Regions from separate parts of the Homo sapiens genome. Here regions 2, 3, 4, 5, 6 and 7 are each linked to region 1. The links are contacts of gene promoters, found by promoter capture Hi-C in blood cells and fetal thymus (Javierre and others, 2016). All regions are on one chromosome and are shown on one strand. Each heading gives the region's core, a stretch centred on a gene start or on the middle of the fragment in contact. The rest is flanking DNA. Distances are from core to core; before and after follow the strand shown.

What was found. The method cuts DNA at HindIII sites, captures the fragments that hold promoters and counts their contacts. A CHiCAGO score of 5 or more calls a contact.
Region 2: a fragment that was not itself captured here is called in contact with the fragment with the promoter of MARCKS in region 1 in 1 of 17 cell types (megakaryocytes); the score reaches 5.1 in megakaryocytes.
Region 3: a contact is called between a fragment that was not itself captured here and the fragment with the promoter of MARCKS in region 1, in 1 of 17 cell types (megakaryocytes). The highest score is 5.9, in megakaryocytes.
Region 4: a contact is called between a fragment that was not itself captured here and the fragment with the promoter of MARCKS in region 1, in 5 of 17 cell types (megakaryocytes, M2 macrophages, erythroblasts and 2 more). The highest score is 15.9, in megakaryocytes.
Region 5: a contact is called between a fragment that was not itself captured here and the fragment with the promoter of MARCKS in region 1, in 5 of 17 cell types (neutrophils, megakaryocytes, naive B cells and 2 more). The highest score is 12.4, in neutrophils.
Region 6: a contact is called between a fragment that was not itself captured here and the fragment with the promoter of MARCKS in region 1, in 1 of 17 cell types (erythroblasts). The highest score is 5.7, in erythroblasts.
Region 7: a contact is called between a fragment that was not itself captured here and the fragment with the promoter of MARCKS in region 1, in 1 of 17 cell types (megakaryocytes). The highest score is 5.3, in megakaryocytes.

Annotation. Positions count from the first base shown.
Region 1 is chr6:113,855,754-113,858,899 of GRCh38, reverse strand. MARCKS (myristoylated alanine rich protein kinase C substrate) reads right to left here and starts at 1,555. Exons shown (of 2, transcript NM_002356.7): 1 at 1,053-1,555. The coding sequence starts at 1,154. RefSeq lists a silencer at 1-8 and enhancers at 1,474-1,523, 1,311-1,854, 1,855-2,400, 2,671-2,720, 2,741-2,800. The HindIII fragment of the contact is 4,373 bases long and covers 1-2,686 here.
Region 2 is chr6:112,334,777-112,337,922 of GRCh38, reverse strand. No RefSeq gene overlaps it. Among named protein-coding and RNA genes, the nearest start is that of RFPL4B, 11 kb to the left of the region's middle. The HindIII fragment of the contact is 2,437 bases long and covers 347-2,783 here.
Region 3 is chr6:112,754,876-112,758,021 of GRCh38, reverse strand. The region is part of intron 5 of LOC105377949 (a long non-coding RNA gene); the gene reads right to left. The region is part of intron 2 of LOC107986634 (a long non-coding RNA gene); the gene reads left to right. Among named protein-coding and RNA genes, the nearest start is that of RFPL4B, 410 kb to the right of the region's middle. The HindIII fragment of the contact is 3,023 bases long and covers 1-2,932 here.
Region 4 is chr6:112,772,894-112,776,039 of GRCh38, reverse strand. All of the region lies in intron 1 of LOC107986634 (a long non-coding RNA gene), which reads left to right. Among named protein-coding and RNA genes, the nearest start is that of RFPL4B, 430 kb to the right of the region's middle. The HindIII fragment of the contact is 861 bases long and covers 1,037-1,897 here.
Region 5 is chr6:112,792,205-112,795,350 of GRCh38, reverse strand. The region is part of intron 1 of LOC107986634 (a long non-coding RNA gene); the gene reads left to right. Among named protein-coding and RNA genes, the nearest start is that of RFPL4B, 450 kb to the right of the region's middle. The HindIII fragment of the contact is 6,537 bases long and covers 1-3,146 here.
Region 6 is chr6:112,808,497-112,811,642 of GRCh38, reverse strand. All of the region lies in intron 1 of LOC107986634 (a long non-coding RNA gene), which reads left to right. Among named protein-coding and RNA genes, the nearest start is that of RFPL4B, 460 kb to the right of the region's middle. The HindIII fragment of the contact is 2,944 bases long and covers 144-3,087 here.
Region 7 is chr6:112,834,743-112,837,888 of GRCh38, reverse strand. The region is part of intron 1 of LOC107986634 (a long non-coding RNA gene); the gene reads left to right. Among named protein-coding and RNA genes, the nearest start is that of RFPL4B, 490 kb to the right of the region's middle. The HindIII fragment of the contact is 5,516 bases long and covers 1-3,146 here.

The sequences.
Region 1 (3,146 bases), core at 306-2,805:
TATTTCTGAGGTCTCGCCTCTGCTTCCACGCCCACCTTCCCCTGCGATTCTGCGAAGCCTGGGCGCGCCTCGGCGGCTCATTTTGCATTTTTAACGGGTTTAAAGCCTCTTGGCAGACCTCGCTTTCCCCAGTAGGTTAGAGCAGGCGAAGCGACACGATCTCTTCTCTAGGAAAAGAGGCGTGGTGGGTGCCCAGTGTTTGCGAAGCAGCCACCCATGGCCGACCTCTCGGGTCCACCCAATCGTGGCTATCTGCCTGGGTCCGGGCAGCGCCGGGCGGCCCCTCGCGGGTGGTCGAGGCGCCACGCACAAGAACAATCCCGACCGAAAGGCACGAACCGCCTCTTTTTGACCATCTGGAAAGGTTCTTAAAGGACCCACCGAGTGTTCCCACCCCACAGATACCATTTAAAAATCAAATGGATGTGTAATTCCACAGACAGCTACGAATAAAGATTTAGGACAGTGGGAAAGCCTCATCAAAAGGTACCGAAGCCCTCTGTCTGGCCCCAGCCAGCCACCTTTCCAAGAACCCAGGGCACGCCGCCGCGGCATACAATAAGACAGCCTTTCCCTCCTCGCCTTTCTCCACCACCATCCCCATTGCGCCCCCCTTTCCCGACTCCCCCCCCCGCCACACACAATCACACCACCAGTTCAGAAATCTCGAAGACAATCCAGCTTCGACAACAAACCCGAGAGACACCCAAACACCATTGTGCCCCCAAACACAAATGAAACCTGGCTGGGGGCGGGGGAAGGAGGGCACCTAGCTAGTCACGTTCTGCCAATCTCCAAACCACGCCATTTTAGACGATTTATCACTCCTTTCCTCCCGTCTACTCAAGAATTCTCCAGGATTCTAAGGAACCACTCCTTTGGTGTGGGGGGACCCCGGCTATGAAAAATCCACAATTTAGGCTATCCATTTCCATTCAACTTTCAGACTAGAATCCAGCCACACTCCTCTCCACGAATGAGCCTTGGGAGCCACCAGGAGGGAAGGAGAGAAAGACACGAAATAAATGACCACAACCACAGGTAGAATTTACCTGTCCGTTCGCTTTGGAAGGCGACGAGGCCACAGCCGCCTCCCCAGGCCTCTCCGCGGCGGCTTCTCCCTTCGCTGCGGTCTTGGAGAACTGGGCACCCATGCTGGCTTCTTCAACAAAGAAACTCAACAGATCCAAGAGGGGAAACAAAGAGCCTCGGGTTGGTGTAACGACGGGGCGAGCAGCAGCAGCAGCGGCGGCGGCAACAGCGGCAGCGGCACACACACCGGAGGGAGGGGGGTGGGGGTGGTGGAGAGGACAGAACAGAACCGATTAAATACACTCCGGATAAAAAAATTTTAGTCGAAGAGATCAAAAAGCAGCAGCACAGGAGGGAGGGAAAAAGGGTGGAAAAGTCGAGCACAAAAAAAGGAGCCCAAGTGTAGTTCGAAAAAAAAAGAAGTAATAAAAAAATCCCAGATTTGTAGCCGCACTGTAGACAAGAGGAAAATGGAGAAATCTCCCTGGTTGCTAATAAGATGCGGGGTCCAACGCCCAAGTGCACAGATGAATGGGCTCGCGGGCGCTGACGCGGCCCCCGCGCGCGTCGGCCAATCCGCGCGCCGCACACAAAGCAGGGGGCGGGGTCTGCGCGCCTGGCGAACAATGGAGCCGCGCTTTGCAAACGGTTTGAAAATCAGCCTCAGACCGAGAATTAATGTCCTCCAAATAAATAAATCAATTAAAAAATACATGGCACTCGTCTCTCTCTGCTTGAAAATAATAATGCATTTCTTGATTGGCTTGCTTTGTTTGGAATTAATTAACACGGGAGGGGGGTACTTGTGCATCGGGGCGGAGAAAGCGTTAACTTGACTCGCATTGACTCTCGTCGGTCTATATCCGTGTGTCTCTCTCTCTCCACTCGCTCCCCTCCCCCATCTTTCCGTGTGTTTATGTGTATGTGTGTGTATGCGAGTGTTAAAGACAATGGTTGCGATTTGTGTGTTTGCAGCATGTTTTCTTTCTTTTTTCCATATTGGTTTTACAGATAATGCTCAGGGTTTGTTTTTTGAACTGCTGCAATGGTTAAATCGTCCCAAATTGAAAGGTATTTAAACCACGAAGATCGAATTTCATCAAGCGAGATCGCAAGTTAGAATTAGGTCTGTAGGCCAGATGTGGAAAATGCAAAAGCGGCAAACAGCGAAGCCACACTCCCTTCCCTCTCCCACATTGGCATGAAATAAAATATTTTGAGATTGGCCTTGGGCGCTCAACAAATTCCCCCTTCTCTGGCTATTCCCAATTAGTGATTTTTTTCCCCCACAATTCAAAGTGAGAGCCATTTACAGAAGATCGAAACTCTTCGCGTTTTATCACTGTTTTAAATGACATAATTTTCCTCTATGGTGAAATGAGACACAGCCTCGAGTAGACGAATCCATATTTACAGTTGGGATGTTATTCGCGTCAATATGGATCGTTTTCAGCCTACTGCCAGAATCGAATGGACTCTTTTTGAACGTGTGTGTGAGTGCGCACGCAGGCGAATGTGCTCCTGAAAGGAAGGGAGGCAGCAGCAACGATGACATTCTAAACCGGATTGCAGTTCTAAGGAGAAATGTTCTGTATGTTGAGAGATAGCAAGATCCCTGAGCTCTCCAAGTCTAACTTGGGTTAGAGGAAAACCTTCTATAATGGTACACAGGATACCTCCATCTGTCACTGCACTCCTTGCCACCGAAGTACCAGACGCTTTTTGTGCGTGAGAGACAAGGCACTGACTTAAAGTATGAGGGGTGAGGGGAACCAAGGAAACAGCTTAATAAGCATTTTCTTCCCAAAGTTTTCACTCGTGGCAAAATCAGACCACCTTTTCTCGTTTACATTTGGTGATCTTGCAAGGAATAATCTTTCGCTTATGAAGGTGAGAAGCAGTCGAGGGAATGGTTCATTTCTCCTGGTGCTGGCTCTGAATTCTCAAACAGTTTTATTTTCTGCTCATTGTAGGGAAATAGGTCACACTCTGAGTGAAAAAGACGGTTGGTTCAAGCCAGTAACTCTTTGTTCAAGCGTTGCTTTAAAAATCACCAAGCTGAACATTGTTACGTGAAGCTTCGTCTTCTCACTGTCCAGTTCCTTCAGATGCAT
Region 2 (3,146 bases), core at 316-2,815, 1.5 Mb after region 1:
TGGGGAACATATAATGCAGAAATATAAAAATGATTTAAAATATCCAACACAGTCACCTAATTAAATATGGTCTTTGAGAGTATATGGGGGTACTCATATTAGTCCACCTACGATGCTGAAAAGTCAAACCACCAAGTCCTGGTGTATCCAACATGTGCTTATGAAATGTCCAGAGTGCTTATCTGTAGGTTATCCATAGTGATCTTGTTTTAATAAAATTAATAAAATATGAAGCACAAGGAGGTTCATATAAGTGACAAGTGAAGCATATCATATAAGTGAAAGATTATTTTATGCATTTAAGTAGAGTTTTGAAGTACAGACATTTTTCAGGCTTAAAGAAGCTTAACATTCTTTGGTGCCAAAGTAGCCCAAATAACTGCAGTTGACTGAATCAGCAAAACCAAGTTTATGCAGAAAAAGCATTTCCTAGGAAGACAACCTCTCTCTCTGACTAGGCTGGAAAAACAGCATCCGTGCCCAGAGATTCAACCTCCTCCCAGTCAGTTGCCCATCCAAGGCTGAGACGGTCGGGAATCTCACACTTCTGTGTTGCACACTGCCATCTACTGTGTCTCTGCAGCAAGTGGAGCCCCAGACTTTATTTATGATCCCAGGCCTTGATGGTGGGCAGGAAACCAATCCATGAGTATCACTTTCCTTCCTTTCACTTGTGGGAGGTTTTATGAATATCAGGAAAAGATGCAAATGAGAGATGTGCACGTATGCAGTTCGATTCATGGAGATCCATGGGACGATGGTTTTAGGAATGGTTGGGGGGTGCTAAAATTAGACAAGAAATTTCCTCACTGAGAAAAACCAGTTTATAAAATTTGTAATCAATTTTTTGACATCAGGGAGAACAGACAAAAAGACATCCTGGTTTTTTTACAATCAAACCCCAAAGCATACAACTGTAATTAAGATGTCTAAATTATGTATATGTGGAAGAAAAGAAAGCATTCATGCAGATGTTTCAATTATAAAAGAAATACTTGTATAACATTCTTCTAGTGTAACTAGGCATCAGTTTTTTTAAAGGTCAACAGCCTACATTTGGTCTATATGCTCCTATTTTTAATCCTTATACCTAACTTCCTGCCATTTCTCTGCAACAGTAAGACCAAAGAAAGCAGATTGTGCATAACACTGAACTGTCGCACACAGGCTTGTTAGCTGAGCTCTTTAGCAATTCTGATAGATCAGTGGGGAGGGAGAGATTTTGATAGGATTTCATTATGGATTTAATTCACCAAATCACCCATACTGCTAACTGAATACTGGGTGGGTTTCACTTTAATAGGTATTTATAAGCTGTGCCTAGTACATGGTTGGTACATAGTCCTAGTACCTAATTCTGGTGACCTCTTGTAAGGCCAAGTTTGCTAGGAGTTAGCCAGCTGCCGAAAAGCATTGTGCATTAACAGAGAGTTTAAAACACCCCAGTTCCAAACACATTTGTTCCTAATATGATAAACATGTTCTTGTAAAAATTACTCTAAGGAGAATAACAAGTTGAGATGATCCCTTGAGCAGGGAAGTGAGAATTCAGTCCCTGGAAAACAAAAGCATCTAAAAAGATGTAGGAGTTGTGGCAGCATAGTGGGGAGAAAGCAAGGGCATTGAAAGAAAAGGAAGAAGGAACTCCTGCTTTACTATTTGATTCTGGTTTGTTCTTACCCACTTGTTCCTCAATTTAAAAGCTAAGAAGGCTCCATTACAATTTTTTTAAGTTGACTATGTCAAGGGAAGAATAGTTTTGTTGTTGTTGTTTTTTAGCAGCCAGTTTTACTTAAAGACCTTTGCAAGAATAACTTGCTTTTCAGCCTTCACAGCTCTGCAGATCTTTCAGAGGCAGTCTGAATTCCTTTTCAAGGAAAGTTAACGGTTGCAAAGCCATGGCTGTCCCTTAGGTAAGGGAGAACACAGCAAAAATTCTGCATTTCAGCTGTTCTGATTCATTTCCCCTCCAGACTGATCTGACATTTTAGTACAATCCAGCTCCTGTAGAGTTAGAGGAGGCTTCAGACCTCTAACTGTGACCACCCACAGCTCTCATTACTCAAGGGACTAAACAAAATCACTGATTTTTCTCCTCTTCAAAGTGAGATGGGTTTGTAGAAGAGGAAAGTGTTTTGCTCTTTCTCATACTTCAAAATATTTATTTATCTCATTTTTCTAATTAGTTTCTAGGATGGGCAAGGCCAAGCAAACTGTGATTTGGGCTCTCATTTTAAACTTCCTCTGCTAGCATCATGCTTATACAAGTTCATCCAGAAATTCTCCAAGTCTTCTGTTTTTCCTTCCTTTCTGTATGTGCCTGCCCAAAGAACTCCCCACATCTCCCACCACCTTGGCCATTATCCCAGGCTAAGCCAATATTATCTCTAGCCTAACTGCCACAGCAGCCTCCTAAATGGTGGCTCTGTATCCACTCTGTACCCCTTTCAGCCTCAGACCCTTTACTCTGAGCCCCCTGGTTAAAACTCTTTAGTGGATCCCCATTGTCCCTGAGATAAAGACTGAAATCCTTACACAAGCCTACAAGGCCAGGTTTTGCTCAGTGTCTGGGTGTGTCTATCTCTTTGATCTGGGCTCCCACCACACTCCCCCTTTATTCGCCATACACAATCCTTCCTTCAGTTCTATGACATGCTACACCCTGCCCCACAGTACCTGAGCGTGTTCTGATAAAATACTCTCTTGTCCTGGAGGTCACCTCCCTCCCCTCATCATCTAGTTTATTTCTCCCTAGCCTTTAAACATTACTTCTCCTGAAAGCTTTCTCTGAGCATAAACCTAGATATCTTTCTTTGACAAACTGTCTTCTGGAACTTCACTCTTTCCCTTTGGGGTAATTATTTTGGTATATAATTACTAGTGTGTTTTTATTTTTATCAAATAATCAAATTGTTTAATGTGATCATTGGTTTACAATCTGTCTCCCTTAATAGACTATGAATTACATGAGGGGATAAACAGTTTCTACTCACCGTTATATCCTGAGCACCCAGCCAGGGTCAGCTTCGTGGATGTGTGAGCTACACAGTTACATAGAAGAGCTTAGAAGGGCTGTATGCCTTGTTTAATGCTCTGCTGTCGCCGTCTTAAAATTCTTAATTTTGGAACAAGGAACTCCATATTTT
Region 3 (3,146 bases), core at 172-2,671, 1.1 Mb after region 1:
ATAGAAAGCAGAAAAGCAATAGAAAAAAGTTGCTGAAGGCAAAAGTTGGTTCTTGGAAAATATCAATAAAATTTATAAATATCTAGCCAGACTGATTAAGAAAAAAGAACACAAATTAGCAGTATCAGGAAAGAACAGAAAAGCTCACAAATAATAAAGAAATGTTATGGACATCTTTATGCCTCAAAACTTGAAAACTTAGGTGAAGTGGACAAAGACCTTAGGAAACATAAATTAGAAGTTCACTGAGGAAGAAAAAGTAATGTGAAAAAGCTATATGTACAGGGAAATTGAACTCTTATTTAAAAGCCTTCCTACAAAGAAAATTCCAAGTTGGAGGTAATACAATGATGAGAGTTTTTTCAATAGTCAGACCACTGGAACTTACATGCAACAAAAAGGGGGAGGGGAGCAACATGAATTATGGCCCTTATTTCACATTATATACAAATATTAACTTTAATGTATCATATGTCCAAAATTTCTAGAACAAAAAGAGCAGAGTGTCTTTCTGTCATAAGGTTATATAAATATTTCTTAAATAGGCTACAAAAACATAAATCTTAAAAGAAATATAATTGTCAAATTAGATTTCATAAATTTTGTTTAAATGCTTTTCAAAATAGTCCATTAAGAAAATGACAAGGCATCTGATGGATTGGAAGAAAATAATTGTGCATTATATATCTGACAAAGAACTTGTACTCAGAACACAAAGGATTCTTAAATCTCAAAATGAGGAAACTAATGAACTTGTTAAAAATGGGCATATATTTGAACAAATACTTTAGGAAATAAGATATGTAAGCGGCATATAAGTATATAACGATGTTCAATATTATTTGTTATTAAAGAATGCAAATTAAAATTGCAATGAGATACTACCATTATATACAATAGAAAGGTTAAAATTAAATGTAACGACATTGCTAATTGTTGGCAAGAGTATTAGGGTTCTTCAGAGAAACAAAACCAAAAGGAAAATATATAAATACATAGAAAAAGATTTATTATGAGGGATTGGCTCATGAGACTGTGGAGGGTAAGAAGTCCCATAATATGTCATCTGCAAACTAGAGACTAGGAAAGCCGGTAATGTAGTTTCAGTCCAAGCCTGAAGGCCTGAGAACCAGGAAAGCCAATGGTGGAAGTGCATGTGTGAGTCCAAAGGCCCAAGAACTAGGAGCACTGATGACCAAGGGCAGGAAACAACAGATGTTCCAGCTCAAGAAGAGATAGCCAATTCATCCTTCCTCTGCCTTTTTGTTCTATCCAGGCCCTTAAAAGGTTGGATGGTGCCAACTCATATTGATAAGGGTAATCTTTATTCAGTCTATCAATTCAAATGCTAATATCTCTCAGGAATGCCCTCACAGACACACCTAGAAATAAATTCTTACCAGCTATGTGGGCATCCCTTAGCCCAGTCAAGTTGACACATAAAATTCATCATGATAGCAAAGATATGGAACAATTCAAACACAATGGTGTTAGTGTGAGTGCAAAATGGTACTGACCTTTGGGAAAATACTTTGGCAGGTATTTTTTTTTAATATGCAGAGATAAATACACATTTATCATAAGATCCAGTCACTCCACTTCTAGATATTCTCAAGAAAAAATGAAACATATGATCATAGAAAATTGTTTGCGAATGTTCATAACAGCTGTAATCACAATAGCCCCAAACTGGAACTAGACAAAATGTCCACTTACTTGTGAATGAATAAACAAACTCAAAACAATAGAATACTACTGAGCAATAAAAAAGAATGAACTACTGAAACATACAACATTGGTGTATTTCAAAAGCACTTTGGTGACTGAAAAAAATCAGACACAAAATACTACATCCTGTATGATTTCATTTTATGAAATTCAAGAAGCCAAAACTATAATGATGGAAAGTAGATAAGAGGCCAAGGGTGAGGTAAGGGGAAGATAGCCAAAAACACTTTTTAGATGATGGAAATTTGCCAAACAGTGATTTAGGTGGTAGTTATTTGACTACATAAATTTACCAATATCTGCTTGCATACTTTAAATGATGAATTTTGTTATATATACATTATATTTTACCACAGTTGTTTAAAAAAAGTGCTATCGTTCATTACATCTAAATATTTTTATAATAATTAAAATATATCTTCAAAGAAAAGCAGCCTTTAGATATATTTAGCTTTTTCATCCAGAATAAAGTGACAATAGTTCCTCTCTGAAATTTCACTAAATTTTACAGTCCCATGAAGTACAATACTATTATAAAATTTTGGTTTATGCATCTTCTTACTTGATAAGTAAGGTTGTCATCTTCTTACTTGGTAAGTCAAACATAACTGCCCAAAAGCAGAAATATTTCACATTGAAATAAGAAAAACTCAGAAAGTGTGAAGATTTTTTTTAGTAACACATTTTTTTCTAATTTGAGATTGTCTCTGGAGGCAATAGTATAGTCTGAGGCAGTTATGAAAACACAAATACAGATTGCATGGTAAAAGCTATAGAGCAAAATGAACCAAAGATGCTCAAAACCTCCCGAGAGGGATAATATCACTAGGGCACATGCGTCTAGCTGATAGGGTGGAAAGCTCCTGTTTCAGACCTTTATAATGAATTATTTTACAACAGGGCTATGTTATCAGTTGGTCCTTTGGGGTAAGCTCTTTGAAGAACATAAAGGACTTGCTTTATAAATCAGAAATCCAATTCAGTTAGCTGTTTCTTCAATGAAAATTGCATGGAGGCAGAATTTTACATGTTCATAAATGGGAAAGCAAGTAAAGAAGTGTAGAAAAAGCAAATTCAGTTAAACCTACATTTCAAAGGTCAAACATTTGGTAGATTCCATCCTCCAGGATTTCTTAGCAGAAAGAATATAGAGAAAAAAAGCCATTAAATAACAGAGTTTTTCAAAAGTCTCTATATTAAAGCTTTGTATGTCACTCTTTAGGTCTTTCGCATGCAAAAAAATTGGAGACATGGGCAGCATGTCAGCTTTTGGAAAAACACAATCTCTGCTGGATTTCCAGTTCTGCTACTTCTTATTTATAACATTTGAAAATATATTATGAATTTCATTCAATTTACTTGTCTATAAGACTGGAGAAAAAATTTCTACTTTTCAGTGCTGTTGAGATGAACATAGA
Region 4 (3,146 bases), core at 218-2,717, 1.1 Mb after region 1:
GTAGCATGATGCCTCCAGCTTTTTTCTTTTTGCTTAGGCTTGTCTTCGCTATATGGGCTCTTTTATGGTTCCATATAAAATTCAAAGTAGTTTTGCCTGATTCTGTGTAGAAAGTAAATGGTATCTTGATGAGAATAGCACTGAATCTATAAATTACTTTGGGTAATATGGCCATTTTTATGATATTGATTATTCCTATGATCTATTTTTAAAAGTGGTTTTGATGCTGATTTAAAGCCTGTATTTAGATAAGGAGTGAACATGTTCTTCATGTGTTCTACTTGTTTAGAATTTTAACCTTTCATAGCATTTTTATACATATCCAGTTTTAAAATATGGGTGTAAATTAAAATATGTTCTGTAACAGTAACAAATTTTGTTTTACAGTTCTGATTTGAAACTAGCTTTTATCTTTCATAGTAGATAGACACAGCAAGATTAATGGTAATATTTGTACTAAAACCTTATATAAGCTTATTAAAAGTGTCTAATAATAAAAGTGTTTAAATACTAAAGGAACAAAAAGAGTTCCTTTTGTTGATGGATGATGAAACCAAAGCTTATCAGAGAAGAGTCATTATGCATCATTATATAAATCTAAAAATAATATTTTTCATGGGTTAGTGAGGTTATTTTGAAAATTACAAGTGTAGCCTTTTGTTAAAAAAAATTGTCAAGATAAGTGTCTCTGAGGCTTACATTGTCTATGATGATTCTTTGTTGACAGAAAAAAAGTCTGCATCATTCTTCTCAAAAATGAAATAAAATTTCAAGAAAGCATATCCTAATAACAGGGATAGAGGTGTGATGGTATCATAATTTCATGGAGCACTAATACAAATTCAGGCAAAATTGATCTCCCGTGTTTTATCTATTAAGCAACATTTGGGAATGTGGTTTCTTTCAGTTGAAATTCTGAGTAAAAAGTTCATCAGAGTTGGTTTGACCAGATCTATATAGTGTGCGTGCTTTGAACTGTCTGCTATCATGCCAGTGCTCCATCTTTAATTGAGAAGACACTTCAATGGCAAAAGCTTGCAGCTACTTCTTCACGTGTGTAATTTTCTCTGGCACTGGAGACTGTCTATGACTCTAGTTTGTCAGAGGAGCTCTTAAAAATGGGAAAGTTTTAACAAATTAACATTATTTATACTCACTGACAAGTATCCAATGTACCTTAGCTGGTTCACTAAAGGTGTTACCAAAAAGGGGTCCCTATCCAGACCCCAAGAGAAGGTTTTCATTCAAAAAGAATTCGAGGCAGTGACCATAAAGTGAAAGCAAGTTTATTAGAGAAATAAAGGAATAAAGAATGACTACTCCATAGGCAGAGCAGCAGCTTGGGCTGCTCGACTGATAATACTTAATAGTTATTTATTGATTATATGCTAAACAATGGGTGGATTATTCAGGAGTTTTCCAAGAAAGAGGTGGACAATTCCCAAAACTGAGGGTTCCTCCCCTTTGTAGACTATGCAGCGTAACTTTCTGACATTTCCGTGGCATTTGCAAACTATCATGGCACTCGTGGGAGTGTCTTTTAGGCATGCTAATGCATTACAGTTAGTGTATAATGAGCAGTGAGGAAAACCAGAAGTCACTTTCATGACCATCTTGTTTTTGGTGGGATTTGGGGCTGGCTTCTTCACTGAAACCTGTTTTATCAGCAAGGTCTTTGTGACCTGGATCTTGTGCTGACCTCCTCTCTCTTCCTGTGACTTAGAATGCCTAACCTCCTGGGAATGCAGCCCAATAGGTCTCAACCTCAGTTTACCTAGCCCCTGTTCAAGACAGAGTCACCCTGGTTTAAATGCCTCTGACATAGTGACAGGGGTTTTAAAGTCAGATGTTTTAAACTCAATTTGTCGGCTACTATTACCAGCTGTTGTATAAAGCTTCTCAAATCAAACCTATTGATGCCTCCAGATGTATGTCCAGGTTTAGCTCCTGAGAAAGTAGGATATGCACCAAATGTAATTTTGACTTTAGTGTCTATAGGCACAAGTAAATTACACAGGCTTCATCCTTACCAGAAAAGACTCCATCTTATTCAAGAGATTCTTAGGTACACTGTTGAAACCTAGAGGGTGGTACAAACATTTCTTATTCTTCCCATGTGGCTGCCCTTTGGTTATGCCAAAGTCCCTTTTGATTAAGCATTCAAAGTGCCCTTTATATTCCTATCTCCCCCCCCCCATTTTTTTTACATCTTCCCTTTCCCTCATACTTCTCCATCTCTACCCACACACAAGCACACACCTGCATGGGTTCCTGGCTTCCACTGGGCATCACTGTCACTGAGATACTAGTAACTATATCAGCAAGGTCAAGTCTTGTTTCACTCTGGTGCACCTTTTGCTTTAGAGTGAAATGAATGTAAGGTAAACTTTTGGCTTCACTAATATGAATTACTTCTCTCAGCATTATTCTGATGCATTATTACCTTAAAATCTATTCTTACCTTGCAGAAGACCTAAAGAGACCATGTGAACACTTTCAAGTCCTTTAAATGAAATGGAGAGAAACAGGATGAAGGAAAAAGGAAACTGGCTCACAACTATCCTCCTCCCACTAATTACCAATGACTTAAGCCCTTCGAATCAAGTCATTTTTCAGGACCCAAGAGCTATTGGCCCAAATATCTGGCAGTTAATCCTAACACATTTTATTTTATCATCAGATTCAATGTTTAATCTTCCTAAGATGCCAAAGTGATTAGTGATTATGACTCAGTACAAATGTGCTTAAATTACCAAAAATTTGAATTTTACACATTTTTTATTAACAGAGAAGCTGAGACTAAGCTGATATTTCCTGTACCAACACTAAAAGCCAACTATCTGGAAGTATTCATTAAAACGAAGAGATGATCATTTTTCTTAAACAATTGCATACCAAATCCAAATTAAACAATTTGCTCATTTATTTTTCCTGTTTCCTGATCTACATTTCAATTCCTCTTATTTAGGAATCTGTATTTACTCATAACTCTTAGCAATCATTAAATAAAACATAACATAAATAGAAAAGTAGTCTGACATATTATACTTCAAAGTCAGAAATAATATGCTAAATTTACTTTCCCAGTTCTCCTTGAAAGGATTCAATAAATTATTCTGAGAGTTATTTCAGGAGTATTGACTGAA
Region 5 (3,146 bases), core at 255-2,754, 1.1 Mb after region 1:
GAAATACTAGCAGGGCTAGACTCCCTGGGGTCAGTTAGAAAAAAAAATGAAAGTGGGGCTCACAGTGACCAATGCACAGTTCTTGGTGGTTTTTCTACATTCCAGCCAACAGCAATGCCACCCCAAATAACCAGCCAATAGCATTGCGCTGAAGGAAACATGGTTCAGGGGTCTTTTAGAATTAAACGCCTAACCAATTTTCCCACAGAGCCTGGATACTCTCATTAGGTCTTCCCTAGAGCAAGAGGTAGCTATAGGTAAGCAATTACCCATAAAGGGAACATCTGAACCCACTCAACTCAAGAGGGTGCTCCAACTAAGTTCAAATGTTTCCATTAAGTATTCAAAGCATGGAGGCAATTGCAGGTCAGTAATTACCCACAGAGGGAGCATCTGGCCCCACTCAATGCCAACCACAGTGTGGTGGCTTTACCAAATCTTAGTGCTCTGCATAGGTATACCCTAGGCCAGGAGGCAAGCCCAAGTCTACACGTATCTGTGGAGCATAGCCTCTGGCCCTGCTCATGTTGTGTGGCCAAGCAGCAACCTAGAGACCTCATCCAGCCTCAGAACCCATCACATAGAAATGCCCAAGTACAGATTCTAAATAACAATACCACCCATTCAAGGAAGACAGCCTGCAACCCTGCTCAAACAGAGATGATTAGAGACCAGCCAGCATTCCCACCTGACAACAAAGTTCAGTTAGTGGTTTTAATGGACCATGGAGCACAACCAGCAATACCATTTAACCTCAGATCACAGAAATGATCCAGCCCAACTAGAAAATCTGACACCAAAGTCTGCTTTTTCATGTTGCTACTAGTCAACCCATACAAAATCCCAGGCTAAACTAAATAGTAAAGGCCTATCACCACCAAAGAACATCTGCAAAGGCCAGAGAAGACAGACATTTATCAAATGTACAGGCATAAATTCAAGGACACAAGGATTATGAAAACTCAGGGAAACATAATAATACCGAAAGGAAATAATAAATCTCCAGTAACGGACCCAGAAAAAAATGAAGATCTATAAAATGACATGTAATTTAGAATAATCCTCTTAAAGAAATTTAAGAAAGTATGAGAAAATACAAATACAAAATTCAATAAAATTTGGAAAACAACTTAGAACAAAAATGAGAAATTTGAAAAAGAAATAGAAGTAATAAAAAGCAAATACAAGTCATGGAGATTAAAATATAATAACTGAACTAAAAAAATTCACTAGAAGGCTTTAACAGCCGACTTAAGCAAAAGAATCAGTGAGGTCTAAAGCAGAATATTTCAAATTATCTAATTAGAGGAACAAAAAGAAAAAAATACATAATAAAAAAGAATGAAGAAGGCCTACAGGAATTATGGGACGCCATCAAGTGAACTAACCTTCGCATAATAAGAGGTCCTCATGGAGAAAACAGGTAAAAAGACTAGAGAGCATATTTTAAGAAAATAATGACTGAAAATTTCAAAATTCTGGGGAGATATTACTACAGGAAGCTCAGAGGTCACAATCAAACTCAACCCAAGGAGGACTTTACCAAGACATTTCATAATCAAATTACAACAAATCAAAGAAATAAAAATACTGAAAAGCAAAAGATAAGAAACACATCACATTGAAGACAGCTCTAATACAGTATTCAGCAGATTTCTTAGGAGAAACCCTACAGACCAGTAGAGAGAAGGATGGTATATTTAAGGTGCTGGTAGAAAAAAATGAAGAAACAAACAAACAAACAAAAATAAATAAAAAACCTGCCAACCAAGCACACTTTATCCACAAATATATCCTTCAAAAATGAGGGAGAAGTAAAAACTTTTTATGATAAACAAAAGCTAAGGGAGCCCATCACCACCAGACCTGTTTTATAGAAACTGTCAAAGGGAATTCTTTAAACTGAAATGAATGACTATTAATTAATAGTACAAAATAAGGAAGTAAAAAACTTGATGACATAAATCATATGTAGTCATACTAATTCTAATACTGTAAGGGTGGCATGTAAAACAATGTTATCCCTACTAGTGGGGTTAAAAGACAAATCTATTAAGAATAACTGTAGCTATAATAAATTATTAAGGGACAAAAAGTATAAAAACAAATATAAATTATAACATCAAAATCATAAAAGATGGGGAAGAGTGAAAGTATAGTTTTTGAATACTATTAAAAGCAAGTTGTTATCAATTTAAAGTAGCCTGTTATAAGGATAAGATATTTTATGTAAGCATTATGGTAACCACAAAGCAAAAATCTATTGTAGTTGCACAGAATATAAGAAGAAAGAATTCAAAGTATACAACCATAGAAAACCATTAAACCACAAAGGGCAATAGCAAGACAGAAAGAAACAAAAGACCTACAAAACAATCAGAAAGCCAATTATGAAATGGCAATAGCAGATTCTTACCTATCAGTAATTGCCTTGAGTGTAAATGGATTAAATTCTCCTATAAAAGATAGAGTGGCAGATTGGATTTCAAAAAATACCAGATCCAACCATATGCTGCTTGTAGGAGACTCATTACTAGTAAGGACACACATAGATTGAAAGGAATGGAATAAAAAGAATGGGAAAAGATATTCCATGCAAAAAGAAACCAAAGGGGAGCAGAGGTGGCTATAATTATATCACACAAAATAGACTTTAAGTCAGAAACTATAAAAAGAGACAAAGAAAGTCATTAAATAGTGCTAAAGGAGTTAATTTTCCAAGAGGACAACATAATTGTAAATACATATGCACCTAACATTGGAACATCTAAATATATAAAGCAATGATTTAATAATCTAAAAGGACAGATGGACTGCAATATTATAATAATGGGGCACCTCAGTACCCTACTTTCAATACATAGAAGGAAAATCAATAAAGAAATATTGTACTTCAATTACAGTGTAGACCAAATGGACCTAATATGCATGTACATAGCATTCTATCTGATAGCAGCAGAATATATATTCTTCTTAAGTGCACATAGAACATTCTCCAGATAGATTATATGTTAGGCCACAAAACAATTCTTAATAAATTTGAGGAGACTGAAATCCTATGAAATATTTACTTGGATAACAATAGCATGAAATGAGGAATCAATGATGAGAAATCTTGAAAAATACACAAATATGTGGAAATTAAA
Region 6 (3,146 bases), core at 366-2,865, 1.0 Mb after region 1:
CCATTGTGTTACATTGATGATTCTTAAATGTAGAGATTATTCAGTCAATTGTAAATTTAGAGGCCATTTCTTACCACTCAGACATTCCTTGGCTGCCTCTTGCCCCAGCATATTGCAGTTGAATTTTGAACCTGCCTGAAGCTTAGTAAACCTGGCCCAAATGTACTTAACACTAGTGCTATGGTAAACACCCTGTCTTCACAGAAGGTATTCTACACCACATACCTTCAGTATGAATTGAGAATTCCAATTGTTCAGAGTTCACTTATTTACATGAATTTGTGTCTGAAATCTACCTCTTTTCATGGAGAATTTTTGATGGCTAAATTCCTTAATAATCTAGCAAAGTCAAAATATGTGAACAAAAAATATTAATATATGGGTGACAATGGAAAATATAAAAATGGTATTTCTTTTTTAGTTTCTTAGTGTTTGAAAGATATTGGTACCTGGGAGGTAAACTTCCTTCAAATTAGGAATTTTTTTTTTTGTCTTTCAAAAAGAGATACAGCATTTGAAGTGGAACTTAAAAGATTCATATTTGTGGGTCAGCAAAAGCAAGAAAGAGAGACACATTATGGTTTCAGAGCCTCAAGGCTTGCAGATATATGTAAATCCAGTAAAATTTAGACAAGTATCTAGATGCAGTAAAAGCTAGCTGCTAAAATTATTTTGTGTCTGAAAATGAAAAACTAATTTCTAAGAAATTCAGCATAGCTGGAATTTTTTAAAGAAGGCTTGAGAAAACATCGAAAATAGACCAGGATATTTTATACCTCAAAATTGAAGCAACAGAGACCTAAGCAACATATCAGCTTTGCAGAAATAATTCTTTACCTATGGGAAAATGCAGAATATGGTAGACTTGGTGGTCCAAGGCTGCTTTGACTAGGAGATGGAGTAAACTTTCTGGAGGAAGTGGCGCTGAATAAGGACTTTTAAAGAAGAGAAAGGTTATGTCTCATGTCTCTGTGAAAGAATGCTGGTAGGCATGTTTTGAAGAACTGAGCAATCATCCCTCATGGATCTCATGAAAAAAAAAAGGAAAAAAAATAGAAGATTTGCGTTAAGTCTTAGGGTAGTTGAATATATAAAGTGAATTTGTAAAATATTATTTTATCTTTAATAATTCACATATTGGACAGTGTTATTCCAAAATGGCATTCCTTTCTCAACAAGTATGTTTGGCATAATGTGCAAACAGCCAGAGCGTTATGCCAATGCTAGAATTGGATAAGTCAACCACTTACGATAAAATGGATTCAGGGTTTGGTGCCATGGCTCACGGCTTAATTCCAACACTTTGGGAGGCCGAAGTGGGAGGATTGCTTGAGGACAGAGACAACCCTTGGCAACAAAGTGAGACCCCCATCTCTACAAAAAAATAGCCAGGCATGGTGGCACACACCTGTGGTCCCAGCTGCTCAGGAGGCTGAAGCAAGATGATCTCTTGAGCCCAGGAGCTGGTGGCTGCAGTGAGCTATGATTGCACCACTGCACTTTAGATTGGACAAAAAGAGTGAGATCCCATCTCTAAAAATAAAAATAAAACAAATAAATAAAATAATGGATTTGAAGCATTCCAAAGGCCAAAGTGTCTTAAACAACTGAGCACACTCAGTTGGTCTTCTGGCCTCAAAGACCAGATTCCAAGCACAGGGTCATGTTCTTGAAGTAGAAGTTCTGAGCCTTAACCCACGGCTCCTGCTTTTTGTCTGTGCAATCTTAGGCAAGTCATTTAGCCTACTAGTTGACCTCCTCATCTGAAAACAAGAGTAATGCCTACAAAATAGGGTTGATGAAAGCATCAAATAAATATATATGTAGGTGCCCTGTGATGCTATTAATTACATAAGATCTAACAATTAATATGCTATTAAAATTATATTTAATATGTCAAAGCAATTCTTGATTTTCACATGGTTATCTATCACTACAGTATTTTTTAACTATACTCTCTTCTGTATCACTCATTTATATTTTGGAACAAGCAATGAAAGTGGCCTGACACTTGAACATTAATGTTCCAGCCCTCCATTACATGCAACATAGCATTCTTCTTCATTACCAACATATGCAGGCTGAAAGGCTTACTATGTACTTTATATTTTATCTTTTATAGATAGCATTTGTAAGTAGAAAAATTGAATCATCCTAGAGCAGTTTATGACAGCTTATTTGTTTTCTGCTTTTTTGTTTTTTGTTATCTCCAGTAACACTCTGATTTCATGCCACACTGAAGCATGATTTAGCATATTCTTTGTAGCTTAAAAGTAGCTAAGCACCCTTCCCTCCCACTATCGACCCCAAAGCTAGCTGCCATTTTTCAGAGTCAGCCAAAAGTGTGATGAGCTTGCAACAAGCAGGATTCAGAGAGATAACATCAAAGAGTATACTCAGCATTGCTGCACTGCATAACCCAAAGAAATGGCAAATGGCACATGAGCAGGAACTAATGGCTGATGTCTTATGGTGCATGACAGTGATTTTCCAATTGTTGGCCACATGGGTTTGGAGGTTATTATTTGGGAGATACATTCCATCCATACACAGAAATTATAATTACTGCATTATTTCAGTCTCAAATTATTTAAACCAGCTTTATTTGATTTGCTTTTCATTTCTTCTGAGTTTATAAAATAGATAGTTATCATAGATAAGTGTATGTGCACAAAAGTACATAAATAAAAGAGAGAATTAGAACCATTTTCAGATTCTATTTCTACACTGGTCAGTACATTAACTCAACACTAATAGTTTTCCAATCTCAGGACAAAAAGAAAAAATTTTATACTGAATTTAAATGCCAGGGTTTTTTTTCTCTCTTGCAGTGAAAGTTTTTCTGTTGGCACATAAGGAGAACACAGGCATGCCTTCTGTAATGAGTGAATGCAGGAGGATTCATTAAAGCATCTTTTATCAAAATTGAACACAGTTTCAACATTCACAAAATTACTATTAGTGGACTTATGGGTTTAACTCCTCTGAGGTAAATAAGCACTTTGATTCCATTTTAACTGCGAAAACATTTGCTAAGCGAGTCTACGACACTTCTATGGATAGTATCTGCTTCATCTCCCTGAAGCTTCTGGGCTATATATAAATCTCTCTTTTCTATCATTTAGTGCTACATAAAATAATGCTAG
Region 7 (3,146 bases), core at 481-2,980, 1.0 Mb after region 1:
ATAGGATTAATATATGAATAATAGAATAAAGGGAATGTTCCTTTGTCTCTCTCTCTCTCTCTGTCTCTCTCTCTCTCTCTCTCTCTCTCTCTCTCTTTCATGATTATCAATAGGATGAGGTTGCTGGACATAGGAAAAACCCATTTACAGAAGAGAATGGAACATATATGCAAAGAGAATGAAAAATAAATGGATAGAGAGAAGAGAGAGGGGGAAAAAAGAGAAAGGAAAAAGAGAAAATCTCCTGACAGCACTAAATCTCCAATTTCAATCCCTAAGGCTGGTTCCAACAGATATTCCTTTTTTGTTGTTATTGTTCTTATTGCTTATGGAAATTTTAGTTCTATTTTTGATAATGCATGGAATTATGACAATTTATCCCTTGAAGTATAACTTATATTTATAAAAGATGTAAAGCCTTAAGCACATAATTCTCTAACGTGGTAACTCTTGGTGTTGATAAGACAACACTAAAGACATGCCTTTGTGCTGGAGGGCTTACCTCTCACCACATATGCTTGTTGACTTCTATGCCTTATTGCTTGGGGTTCTTTTTCTCCACTGAACTCAATTCTCTGGACCAGTTGCCTCACAGTGGGGATTCTGGGCTATTTTATTTGGTTGACATAATATGTAGGACTGGAATGCTTTTAGGTGGCATAGGGACTCTATTTATCCACAGTTACTTACAAGCATTTTTTGAACACCTTGCCTGCGTAACTTTTCCTGACCTTTAAGGCATTTAGTTTTATAATTCCTGTACTAGAAATTTTCTTGTCATCCTGCTTCTCCTTCAAAACATACCCATTTTACTCCCCAGTGCATCAAGACTTGACTCTCCTTTCCAAGGTGAAAACTTTTTTTTTCTGGTACATTAATCCATCTGAATATGTCAGCTGGTAATAATGTATGTTTTGTGGTTCCTTCCAGATAAGAGATATATAAATTGGAAGGTAAGAAAATGAATGAACTGGAAACATCATGCCTGAATTCCACAGAGAGAACAAAACTTAAATTTCATCATAAAAATTATCAAACCTAATTATCCAAAATAAATTAAATATAAAATTATTTCAGTTGGTACTCATTTTATAATTGTTGAGCATGCAGCTGATAAGGTTAAGCAGCATGCTACTAATGCTATGGATAGCAATCCCAAGCTCTAATCATTTTTTTCATAGATCAAACTTGACAACCACTGTATGAGGTGGTTTTGAAATTAATTGAGTATTGAAAATATAAATCTTAAAAGTCAATAGTGTATTTGTGATGGAGAAAATGGAATGGGAATTGACTTTTTAGTTTAACAAAATGGTGTTTAGATGGTTCAAGGAGACATAATGGAAATGAGTACTTGGACTCATCCAGTCTTCATTCAGATGAAAGCAATGAAAAGGCCAAGGGAAATAGCAGGTCAGGATATTGGCAAAGATATAATTGAAATCATAAATCATTGATTCTAAACTGGATTATGAGTGAATTTAAATAAAACTAAGGTTAATTAGTTCAGAAAGGTAGAATACATAAATAAAGAGATGGACCAATGAATAGATAGTAGGTTGGAAAGGATGGGTAGATGAATGGAATAATTATCATCTAGAACAAATTCAGGCATTTGTCAATTGACGTTATATGTGTCATTTAAAAAAACTGAAACAAAACTGAGATTTTTGTAGCAGAACTCTGAGAGAAAGCGAAGAATATTCTACATTTTTGACTGCTAAGGAGTTCTTTCTGTCAAGGCTCTAAACATTCAACATCAATTTCTACCAAAGAATTTTCCATCACTTTCTGTGGAAAAACCCTTGGCAAATTGTACTGAACACTTTAGCATGCTATATGGTATTTAATTATGGAATTTAATTTCAAATCACCTGCTTCTAGTCAGTTTTATATGGGAACACTTCCTAAATGTGCTACATTTAATGCAATATCTACTAAGTTTCATATGGTAGTTTTCTCATTTCAGATAGACACAAAGCTGACATTGATGGAATCTGAATGGGGTTGGTTTTCTTTAATGGGATTATCTACATTCTTATACAAATGACATCTATTAAGTGTATAACTTGCTAGGTTGTATGGTAGATATTGGGAATAGAAATTTTAATAGGAAATTGTCTCAGATCTTTAGAGCCCAGGAGAAGAGACAAGCCTATGCCTTAATGAATAGCTGTAAGCAGAGTGCACTGGATTTCAAAATTCAGACCTGACTACCTACTGCAATAGAGAGGGTTCATAAAGTAGGCAACATTTGTGCTAGGTCATGATGGATATGCCAACAAGGAATAATGTGTGAGATACACACTGTGTTGATCAGAAAATATTGTCATCTACTTCTTTTATCTTTTGGTAGAACATATCTACCACTTACCTATCTCTTCTCCTTCGGTTAGAACATATTTCTCCACTACATTGATATTGGGCTTGACTATGTGTCTTGCTTTAGTCAGTGGAAGGGAGCAGTCATGATGCAAGCAGAGCCCATAAATGTGCTAGCATGTGGCCCCTTGCATTCGATAATCTGCCAGAAAGAGAATATACTCTGAATAGCTGCTGGTCCAGGAAGAATGAGGAGGCACACAAAGCTGATCTAATTCCAACCTACCAACTGGAGCCAAGCCCAGCAGATCCCAGCTGAGCCCAGCCTGAATCAAAGCTGCCCCACACAACGCTTAAGTGAAAAACCAAAAATGTGTGTTGCCTTAAGACACTGCCCTGGGTTTTGAGACAGATTTTTATGCCTTATTATGCCACATAGCTAAATAATACACAGGGAAAGCCTTGCTGCCTAGAAAGACGAATACCATGTGAAGGAACGTAGCTATTACTTTGCTATGGTTACACTATGATTACACATTGAGTTACTATAAAAGAAAAGTAGGAGCTCGAAGACACAGTTTGAGGGCCAATTATGAAACTGAAGAGTTGGACCGAATCTCATAGGTGACGAGATGTGATCAAAGTAATTCTTTTTCACAGAAGGAATGACATAAGCATTCTCCACTGAGTTAATCTTGCAACTTTGTCTAGGAGGATATCTACAAGCAAACTCACTCATTCAATAAATATTAATGAGCATCAACTATGTGTCAGATATTTTTGATACATTAGTGAATGAAAATAGGTCTCTGCTCTTACCTCTT